Linked DNA regions of Homo sapiens: region 1 is linked to region 2. The links are contacts of gene promoters, found by promoter capture Hi-C in blood cells and fetal thymus (Javierre and others, 2016). All regions are on one chromosome and are shown on one strand. Each heading gives the region's core, a stretch centred on a gene start or on the middle of the fragment in contact. The rest is flanking DNA. Distances are from core to core; before and after follow the strand shown.

Region 1 (4,905 bases), core at 1,084-3,583, 1.5 Mb before region 2:
ATCCTTTGGTTTAGCCAACTAGACATTTTCTGGCTTCCATAGGCTTCAATATTGCCCCAAAGACAAGTTTCTAGCCCCAATTCCACAATCCAGTGACATTATTTCCTTTATACTATAAATGGGATGACGGAATTTTTTTTAAGTAGAATATTTTTAGGGCAGAAATAAAGCCTAAGACCAGTATATATGGGCAAAATAACATTAACTTTTAACCCTTCTTGATCTCAGGAACTCAAAAGTTCATTTAAAAAATTGTTTTCTCTCTCTATGTATATATTTTAAAGAAAGCACCTTAGGGTACATCTGTCAACCTGTGAGTAGCTCTGAAATTACTCAAGAAACACTGCCACACCTATTATTAATGCCACACCTATTATTTAATAGCTTCATTCTGTAACCTGCTAATGCCTCTCTCTGGGAGTGCCCAGGGGCTCATTTTAAAATGAGGGCAGGGCCTGGGCTCCCCATCTGGCTCTAAGCCCTCCCACAAGGAGACCTACTAGTGGCCACTTCAAGACTAATTCATCCAGCATTAGCGCCTAACTGGAGACGCCGCTCTCTGATGAGGCACAGACCGTTGTCTCGTCTGCCAGGAGCACTTGACTCAAGTCAAGCCTGGCCAGGCCTACCCCAGCCTCAGAGTGGGTGGCCAAGTCCCCTTGTAATCTACAAGGGAGAAGGAATTGTGCTAAGCACAGGTTTCTGTTCAGAGCTGGGCTCTTGGAACTCCTGCAGTTTGGGTTATTTTAGTTTTTAACAGCTCAAGTTCTACTTTGCATTTCACAAATATGGAAATGTCTTAAGAGAAAACAGAAGCATCCTCCCTCTCTGGCCATTGCTCCCATTCCTAGAGGATTTGGGAGGGAAGAGCAGATACCAGGCACCATCTGGAGTCAGGAGCGCAGGAACCAAGGCCAGCTGAGAAGAACCCATTTGCAAAGCACTTTGCAGATCAATAAATTCGACTGATTTTAGAGCGGTCCCTAGGGAAAGGCGAGCAAATGGGCCAAGGAGAGATGCTGCCCATCCAACAAGCCCTGGCCAAGCAGAAAGGGGCGAGGCGGCGCGGGAGGCGAGTTACCTGGAGGACTCGGCGGTGAAGCTGCCGCCGTCCAGCAGCCGCATCTTGCAGAAGAGGACCCCATTGACGAAGGGCACTGAGGAGAGCTCCTCGAGCTCGAAGTCCACCTTAAACTTAAACTTCTTCTTCTTCATCATCGTGAGAGCCAGGCGCCTGCAAGCTGGGCGCACGGCCGGGCGCCGCCGCCTCAGCTTGGCCGAGCCCCGGATCAGCCCAGCCCCATGGCCGGGGCCGCGAGCTGTGCGCGGGGGCGCGGCCGGGGGGCGCCGCAGGCCGGCCGCGGCCGGGGCCGCTGCCGCCGCCTCTCGCGGCAGCCTGGGCCGGAACGCGGCGGCAGCTGCGGCGCGGACCCCGACCGCCCGCGGGGAGCGGTCGTGCTGCAGCTCGCCCGGGGAGGTGAGCGCCCTTTTGGTGCTCAGCTCGCCGCCGCCGCCGCCGCCGCCTCCGCCGCCGCTGCCGCCCGTCTGGGAGTCGGGAGAGGCGAGGCTCGAGGAACCGCCGCCTCAGCGCCTCGGGGGTCGGGGGCGCCCCCAGCGGCCGCGGCCTGCAGCGCACGGCGGGGCGGAAGCCGGAGGGAGGGCGGGGACTTTGTGGGCGGGCGCGGGCTTGGCCGCGGACTCTAACCCGCGACGGCAGTTAGCACGTCACGCCTTTCTGGGGTTAAAAAAAGACAAACCCGACAGAGAAAGCTTCCTTCTACCGCTTCCTCTCCGCCTTTCTTTTCAGTTTTTGCACCGCCTCCTTTCTCCCCCACCCCCTCCAGTGGTTTCTTTCCTTTGGGTTTGAGAGCCATGGGTTAATAGAGGCAATTAAAATCTCAGCGTTGTTTTGGTCAAATTGAAATCCTAAAACTAAAATTTCCGTTAGGTACTCTAAATTCACGAGCCTTCAAATATAAAAGGAAGATAAGGTAGGAAAAAGGAAAATGATGTGCTGAGGGACTATCAAGGGCCCAGGCACCGTACTGCTGCAGGCGCTTTCTCTGGGGTATAGCTTATCTAGTTCCTGTCACCCAGGACAAAAGATAAAAGAGCAAAGAAGCAGTTAAAATAATACCCTCCCTTTAAAAATTTGTCTGTCTATACTGAGAACTGAAATGCTTAAAATCAAATTCTGCAGGCAGTCTGGCATGGCTACGCTGTAATCCCAGCTACTCGGGAGGCTGAGGAGGGAGGTTAGCCTGAGCCGGGGAAGCGGAGCTTGCAATGATCGGAGATCGCGCCACTGCACTCTAGCCTGGGCAACAGAACAAGCCCCTGTCTTAAAAACAAAACAAAATCTTCAGAGCAGGCTTAAAAAAAAATCTCCCTAGGGGAATAACAATTACCTGCCTTCTGTAATCATGCATGTATTGTTACAATGAATGTTACAAAGTTGGTTACGTGATGTTCATGTTTTTAAACTGAGTTATTGTCATTTTCACTCAGATTCTGCCACAGTAATTCTGAAAGGGTTTAATTGAAAATATTTTCTTTCTCAGTTTACTCGTTTACTCATTCATTCATATAAAAAAATTGCTTAAAATGTCAATCATCGGCTAGACCCCATAACCAAAAGCCAATAACTGCCCTCAAGAATTTTACAATCTAGTGAGGAAGACATGTTTAGACAGGTCATTAAAAAAACACAACCTAGCACCAAGCTATGTAGAACTCAGAGAAGCAATTAATTGAAGTTAATCAGTTTTCTGAATTTCAAAGGATGAAAATGATTTGGGACAAAGTGGGGTAAGTTGTTCTAGGAGAAATAAATTAAAAAAAAAAAAAGATTCAGAGGCAGGTTCGGGGGTGGGGATTTGGTAATGGATAAAGCTTCTTACCCTGCAGGACAGGGGGCAAAGACAGTGAGATGCATTTGGGGACTTTGAGATTTGTCATTTAGAGCACTGGATGAATGTTAATTTCATTGACTGAACATTGAAAGCAAGAGGAGGGCAGGTTGGGAATGGAAGAGATAATGAGTCTTTATGGGATCTGCTTGCAGTACATCTAGGGAGAGAGAGGCAGCCTTAGCTCATAAAAATGCATTGGCAATTGAAAATATACATTTGGGAATTGAGGTAATCGCTGATGGCTGAAGCCCAAAAGGTGGATAAGGATGAGTTACTCTGAAGAATATTTAAAGGGTAGGCAAAGAGGAGATCGTGAAGGTGCCTAAGAACAAGCAGTCAAGAGAAAAAGGAGATGAAGAAAGAGATGGCCTGGAAGCCCAGACGGTTTTAATCATGTAACATTCGTAGTTACAAAGTTCTATTGTGTGCCAGGCACTATGCTGGGTACTAGAGATGCAAATGAATAAGACATAGGGGCTTATAAAGGAATGGAGAAAAACAGAGATATGCAAACAGATCAACTAAAGTGTGTGTGTGTGGTATGTGAGTATGTGTGTGTGAGAGAGAGAAGAGAGAGAGAAAGAAAGAGAGAGAGCAATCTGTGATCCATGTAGGACAGAGGACCATTTCAAGAGAGTGCTGCAGAGCAGTCCCAGAGGATTTGGACTGAAAAGAAGCTACTGAATTGAAGGTCTAGGAGGTCATTGGTAATCTTGGCAAGAGAAGTCATCATAAAAGATAGTGACAAAGTAAGATGAAAAGTGACAAAGTAAGTGAAAAGATGACAGTGAAAAGTAAGATAGTGACAAAGTAATGTGGGTAAATAAAAATTATATTTTTATTGATGTTTTTCTGATTTTTTTGTCAGCGAATGAAAAGAGAGAGAGAATGGTGACCAGAGGAGGACAGTTCAATCTTTTTCAATAACATTCAGGAACTATCCAATATTTATTGAGTGTCTATTAGGTGCCAAGCACCTTAATAGGTCCTATGGATTTGAAATGCCGTCCCTGTCTTAGATCTCACGGTCTACTGGAGGACACAGAGAAGTAAGCAGGCAGTTGCAGTACAATGTAACACTGAGTGCTGTCTGTGTATGATGGTGAGTGGAGACTGCTGTGGGAGACTATAAAAGCTAACAGGGATAAGTAGTAGGTTTATGGAATGCCTTCTAGGGTAAGTGAAGCCTGAATTCAGGCCTTTAAGCTGAGGCCTGAATAATGAGCATGGGTGGGGAGCAGTTTCCAGGAAGGAGGTAGTGTCTGTGCAGAGGCTCAAAGGAAGAGAGACCATGTTGCAGAGGGAACTGAAATTAGTTCTGTCTGGCTGCAACTTAGAGTTGGGTACAGTGACAGGGGTTAACAAAGAGCCATTGAAGTTTTAAAGAAGAAGCATGATATATTCAGATTTACATTTTGTAAAGCTCTTCTACTTTATAAAATGGAAGATAGGAGACAGTCTGTTACTGTTTTTTAGACTCATGGTTTGATTATTAAACCCCTGATAGGAGTCATAGTCAAGGCAGGAAACAGATATCATATTCAATGTGTTTAAATGGGGAAAATTTAATGAAAGGACTCTTCACAGAGTTGACAGGGTAAGGGACCCACAGTCTGGTGAGAAGTTGAAAGGAAGAAGGGATAAATATCCTGATTTCTCTCACCTCCTACTTTCTGATCTCTTGGTGGTGCTTCCCATGATCCAAAACCAACCAAGGCCAGAGGGTAGAGGGGCTCGGAACATGCAGTTCATACAGGACAGACTCCTGGGGCACAAAGTAGGGCACTGAAAGGTAGAGAATGGTTGGAGGTAAGGGGATGGAAAGCCACTAGCACACAAAGGATACAGTCAGGGTTCACCATAGGAAGCTGAAACCACTCTGGATGTTTCAAAAAAAAAAAAAAAAAGGGATTTCATTCAGGCACTTCACTGCTTCTGAAATCTGTGGAAGGGCTGAAGGGGTTGAGGTCAGCAGACTGTCGAATTCAAAGTC
Region 2 (4,663 bases), core at 2,138-4,637:
TCACATGTATTAACTCATTCTATTCTCACATCTATGACATAGGTACTATTGTTATCTCCATTTTGCATACGAGAGGAATTTCCTCCATTTTGAAGGAAAAAAAGGTGTTTAATATTTTGCCCAAGGTCACAAAGAGTGGTGGAGCCTAGGTTCTACTATGGGCTGTCTGGCTCCAGAGTCCAATTTTGTAGCCATTATGTTATGCTAACTCTTGACTAATTGCTTCAGTCGCTGTATTTTTATAATTCATTTTTCTTCTGGGAAGGAGTAATAAAAATCCTGAAGCTTACTTTAACTATGGAATACATACCCTTTACTTCTATAGTTCCTCCAAGTTTTAACTGAGGTTCCCTTTATGTGCTTATACTGATAATGATAACTCTATAGTATTTATCAAATATATAAAAAATAGAATTTGGAAGAATATTCTCATTTATCACTTAGTAAAGGAATTGTTAAATCAAGTTTTTTTTAAAAAACAAACCAAACCACCAGAAACCTACTCAAAATCACACACTCAAACTCTAAATAAATATTTGATTTAAAACATAGAACACCTTATAAGGAGCTCTATTTTCCCTCTAGCTTAAGTCTAGCTTGCTGTGACTGTAGCATTTACATGAGATGATCACTATCTTAGCATCAAAATGGTGACGGTTACAACTGTACTGCTTGCTACTCAATTATCTTGTAAATTGATAATTTTGTACATGTATATCTCTCCATGATGGAAGATCTGTGTTATATACAACCAAAGTTTAGCAAATTAGTTTTTATACTCTAATACTTTAATATGCAATGAATAAAAGGGCAGAAAATTCAGAATTACAATAAATGTTAGGCTATTTCAGAACACCAGTTTTTCACACCTATTTTCTTAGCATACAGAAGCTCGAAAATCATACATTAAGCATAGTTTGAATTGTCCTGAAGTTATATTCTGAAGGGGCTGTAACACTTAAGAACTAATAATATTAAAAAGGCAAAAGCATTATAACTCACAGCACACAAGACTTTTTACCTCATCTATAAAACGTGAGAATGTCAATGTTTTATTGGCTACAAGGATAAGGAAGGAAACATCAGAGAAATAAATTTGATAACAAGATTCACACTTCATTACAAGTGATTTTCCTAAATTCACAACTTTCACATTTGGCTGAGTGAAAGAGAAAAACAAAACAAAACAAAACAAAACTGAAAAGGGAACTTTCACTACTTGTAAGTAGGCCAACTCACATGATCCCTCCAAATGAGAGAGTTTAAATGAGAATGAGTATACTTTTCTAGCTGGGAAAATATTTTCCTTAATTAAGTGAGTTTAAATAATTTACCCATGGTGATGAATAAGCCCTTGGGCTAGGCTCAGAAACCTCCTCTACCAGCCTGTTTCATAAGAATTACACAAATATTTTTATGGGACATACAAGAAATATTTTTTGGTTATAATAGTAGAGACAAGAATTTTTAAAAATCCATACTATTTCTTTCAGGTCTCTCTCTTAAATGCACCTTCTGAGTTTCTTAGGTATGCTGTACAATTACAAAGTCCATTTTACTTAACGGATTAATGTGTTCATCAACTTTAGCACCCTATGATGTATGTGGTCAGAGTAATGAGAACAGGGCTATTTAAACTGCTTCCTCATATCCTTCCCCTTAATTACCAGTAGTGAAGTTTACCTAGAAAACAATGAGGAAGAAGTACCATAGCCTACAGGCACCTAGGGAGGGGGAATTAATTCGGACTGAGAAAATATGGCTCTGGAGAGATACTAAAGTCGTACTGGAAATGTATGAAGTCTAAATGAACCCCTTTCTCCCCAGCTTCAGACTTAGATAAGGTGTGAGGTGTCAGGGATGTGCATGGACCCTTCAAAAACTGACATTTTCATCCGTGTTCTTCCCCCTCACTCCCCCGCGAAACAAAATATACGGAAATACAAGTGCTTGGTACTACATGCTTTTGAGGCTAAATGCCCAATAATAAGCACGCTGTATCCGTTGTTGAGGGGGATCACTTTTTAAGTAAACATCACCAGAAGAATCTCTTCAAATGGAGAATGAAGTCACTCTCCCTCCCTAGAGGCTATGAGGGAAAAGGGGGAGATATTCCCCCTACTTGCACGTGGGATCTCCCTTTCCCCTCCGACCTCGCTACGCCTCTCCCACGCAGGTCAGGCTGCTTTGGGAGGTAGCTGGGAGAAAAGGCAACGCTCAGTCCTCCATGGCAAAGTCTTTGGTCTTCTCCTCCTGGTCTCCCACTTTGTAGCGCAGCAGCACGCGCAGGCGACGGGGGTTGTCCCGGGAGGGCAGCAGCGTGATCTCTCCTGAAACGTCCGTGTCTTGCTCCACTTGCACCGGCTCGTTCAGGTAGAGGAGCGCCTGTTTCCAGTGAGTGGCCGGGTGAAAAGGCGAGGTGGACAGCACCAGGGGTTTCTCCGACTCCCCTCCAGGGAAGGTCACCTGGAACCAGATGGCAAAGCCATGCATGGGCGCCGAGCCATAGCAGCTGCAGCGGAAGCGCCCGCCCACTCCGGCCTCCAGCTCCTGCTCCAAGCCGGCGCGGGAGAGCTCTAGCTGAGCAAAGCGCTGCGGCCGGGCCAGCACGTCCTCGCCGGACAATCCCTGCACAACGATCTCCGAGTGGCCCATGAGACAGCGCGTGGCGAAGCCCTCCAGGCAGCTCATGTCCACACCATAGTGCTGCTTCACCTGGCTCCAGAAGCCCAGGCGCCATTCCAGCATCTGGTCGCTGATGGGGGCTATGAAGAGCTCGGCGGAGGCCGGCAGGAGAAGACCGCCCTCCTTCAGCCACTTGGTTCGCGCGTGGAGGACGGAGCTCAGCATGGACTCGTGCAGGAGTCCGTAGCCCATCCACTCGCTCACGATGGCATCCACCTGTTCCGGCAACTCTACAGTCTCCACTGGTCCCGGCAGGACGTGCACCCGGTCCTCCAGCCCGTTGAACCGCACCACCTCCCGGGCCTGTTGCCAGATGGCGCTGGCCTCTACCGCGTACACGCGCCGGGCCCCGGCCTGGGCACAGAAGATGCTCAGAATGCCGGTGCCCGCGCCCACGTCCAGTACCGTCTTGCCTCGCAGTGCTGCCCAGTTCCGAAGGATACCCAGGCGGTAGGCATCGGTGCGGACGCGGTCCGCGATCATCTCCTCGTGGACCGAAACGTCCGAGTAGCACTCGTAGTACAGCTGGTCCCGTTCCCGCTTAGTCCTCCGGGGTCGCTCCAGGGCCGCCTCCCGCTCCGCGCCATCTTCCTCTTCAGTTCCCTCCCCTCCTTCGCCGCCGCCCCCCGACTCAAGCTTTCTTTTCTTGGGCTGCGACATCTTGGCCGCTCTGCCCGGCTCCCGGCGGGCGTAGCGCGGCACGGCGCGGGCTCCAGGAAACGGGGGCTTCTGGGACTTGTAGTGCGCGCTCGTCCTTCCTACTTCCTGCGGGGTCGCCCGGCCGGCGGCGCGGAAGGTCTCCTGTGCCTGCTCACGGGAGCTGTTTTGTATTGCTCTTCTGGTGTCCTGGCATCCCTTTTCCCACCCACGACGCCCACATTCTGAGATCCTTTCATTCCCCCTCCCACCCTTAGCTCCTCAGTTTTTTGCTTTCACTCCCTTCCTGAAGTAGGCACGCACACTTAAGACTAATAATCCACCTTTGTTTCTTCTGCTGAACTCACCTCTGTTTTTTTTGTTTGTTTTTCTGTTTTTTGTTTTTTTTGAGAGGGAGTTTCGCTCTTGTTTCCCAGGCTGGAGTGCAATGGCGCGATCTCCGCTCACCGCAACCTCCGCCTCCTGGGTTCAAGCGATTCTCCTGCCTCAGCCTCCCGAGTTGCTGGGATTACGGGCGCATGCCACCAGGGCCGGCTAATTTTGTATTTTTGGTAGACGGGGTTTCTCCCTGTTGGTCAGGCTGGTCTCAAACTCGCGACCTCAGGTGATCCGCCCACCTCGGCCTCCCAAAGTGCTGGGATTACAAGCGTGAGCCACCGCGCCCGGCCTAACTCACCTCTGGTTTTATTCCACCGAATTAACATGGCAGCACCATCCACCCACTACCGCCTTAACTGGACAATTGTAGCTCTTAAAGTGCTCCAGCTGTGGCAATTTAGAAACTGCACTACGCATTTCTTTTTTCTGTTTTCAGTGCAGTTAGAGTGCAAATGTAACAAAATTAAAACCTAACAATGCAAAATCTTGGTTCTGATTCCAGTATGACCACTAATTAGTTGAGTGATTTAGGGCAAATAATAGAACTTCTCTGGCCTTTAGTTGCCCATTCACCCACCAGCGAATCTTCATTGCAGTTGGGGAAGAACTAGGTTTCTGGTTCTACTTAGAAGAATAGTTACTTGGCTTTCGGCTCTGCTCTGATAATTCTGTGGCTCTCTTAAGAGTTAAATCCTGAAAAGTGCAGACTCAAGAGCCATGTGATACAAGCAAACTCGTTGCTAGGTGTATTCTATATATATATGCGTTTTTTTCTCTCAGAAATAACGGAATCAATTTCTTTTAATCACTTTCTCAATGCAATTCATTTTTTCCTGTGTTTTCTTGTCCGGGCAATATTGACACTCTCCTCTTTCTCTTATATTTTTCTTGTAGTCAACCATCAGCTGTTACTCTCTTTTTGTTGTCCATAATGGAAATAAAA

The links. Contacts are between HindIII fragments. The CHiCAGO score rates a contact against its expected background, and 5 or more counts as called.
Region 1: a fragment that was not itself captured here is called in contact with the fragment with the promoter of PRMT6 in region 2 in 1 of 17 cell types (fetal thymus); the score reaches 8.9 in fetal thymus.

The regions. Positions count from the first base shown.
Region 1 is chr1:108,556,742-108,561,646 of GRCh38, reverse strand. EEIG2 (EEIG family member 2) reads right to left here and starts at 1,547. Exons shown (of 11, transcript NM_001010883.3): 1 at 1,082-1,547. The coding sequence starts at 1,218. RefSeq lists enhancers at 344-393, 857-956 and a silencer at 1,347-1,886. The HindIII fragment of the contact is 1,122 bases long and covers 1,773-2,894 here.
Region 2 is chr1:107,055,398-107,060,060 of GRCh38, reverse strand. It overlaps PRMT6 (protein arginine methyltransferase 6), which reads right to left and starts at 3,387. Exons shown (of 1, transcript NM_018137.3): 1 at 767-3,387. The coding sequence starts at 3,345. The coding sequence ends at 2,218. RefSeq lists enhancers at 2,586-2,795, 2,806-2,935, 2,946-3,085, 3,106-3,155. The HindIII fragment of the contact is 2,330 bases long and covers 3,324-4,663 here.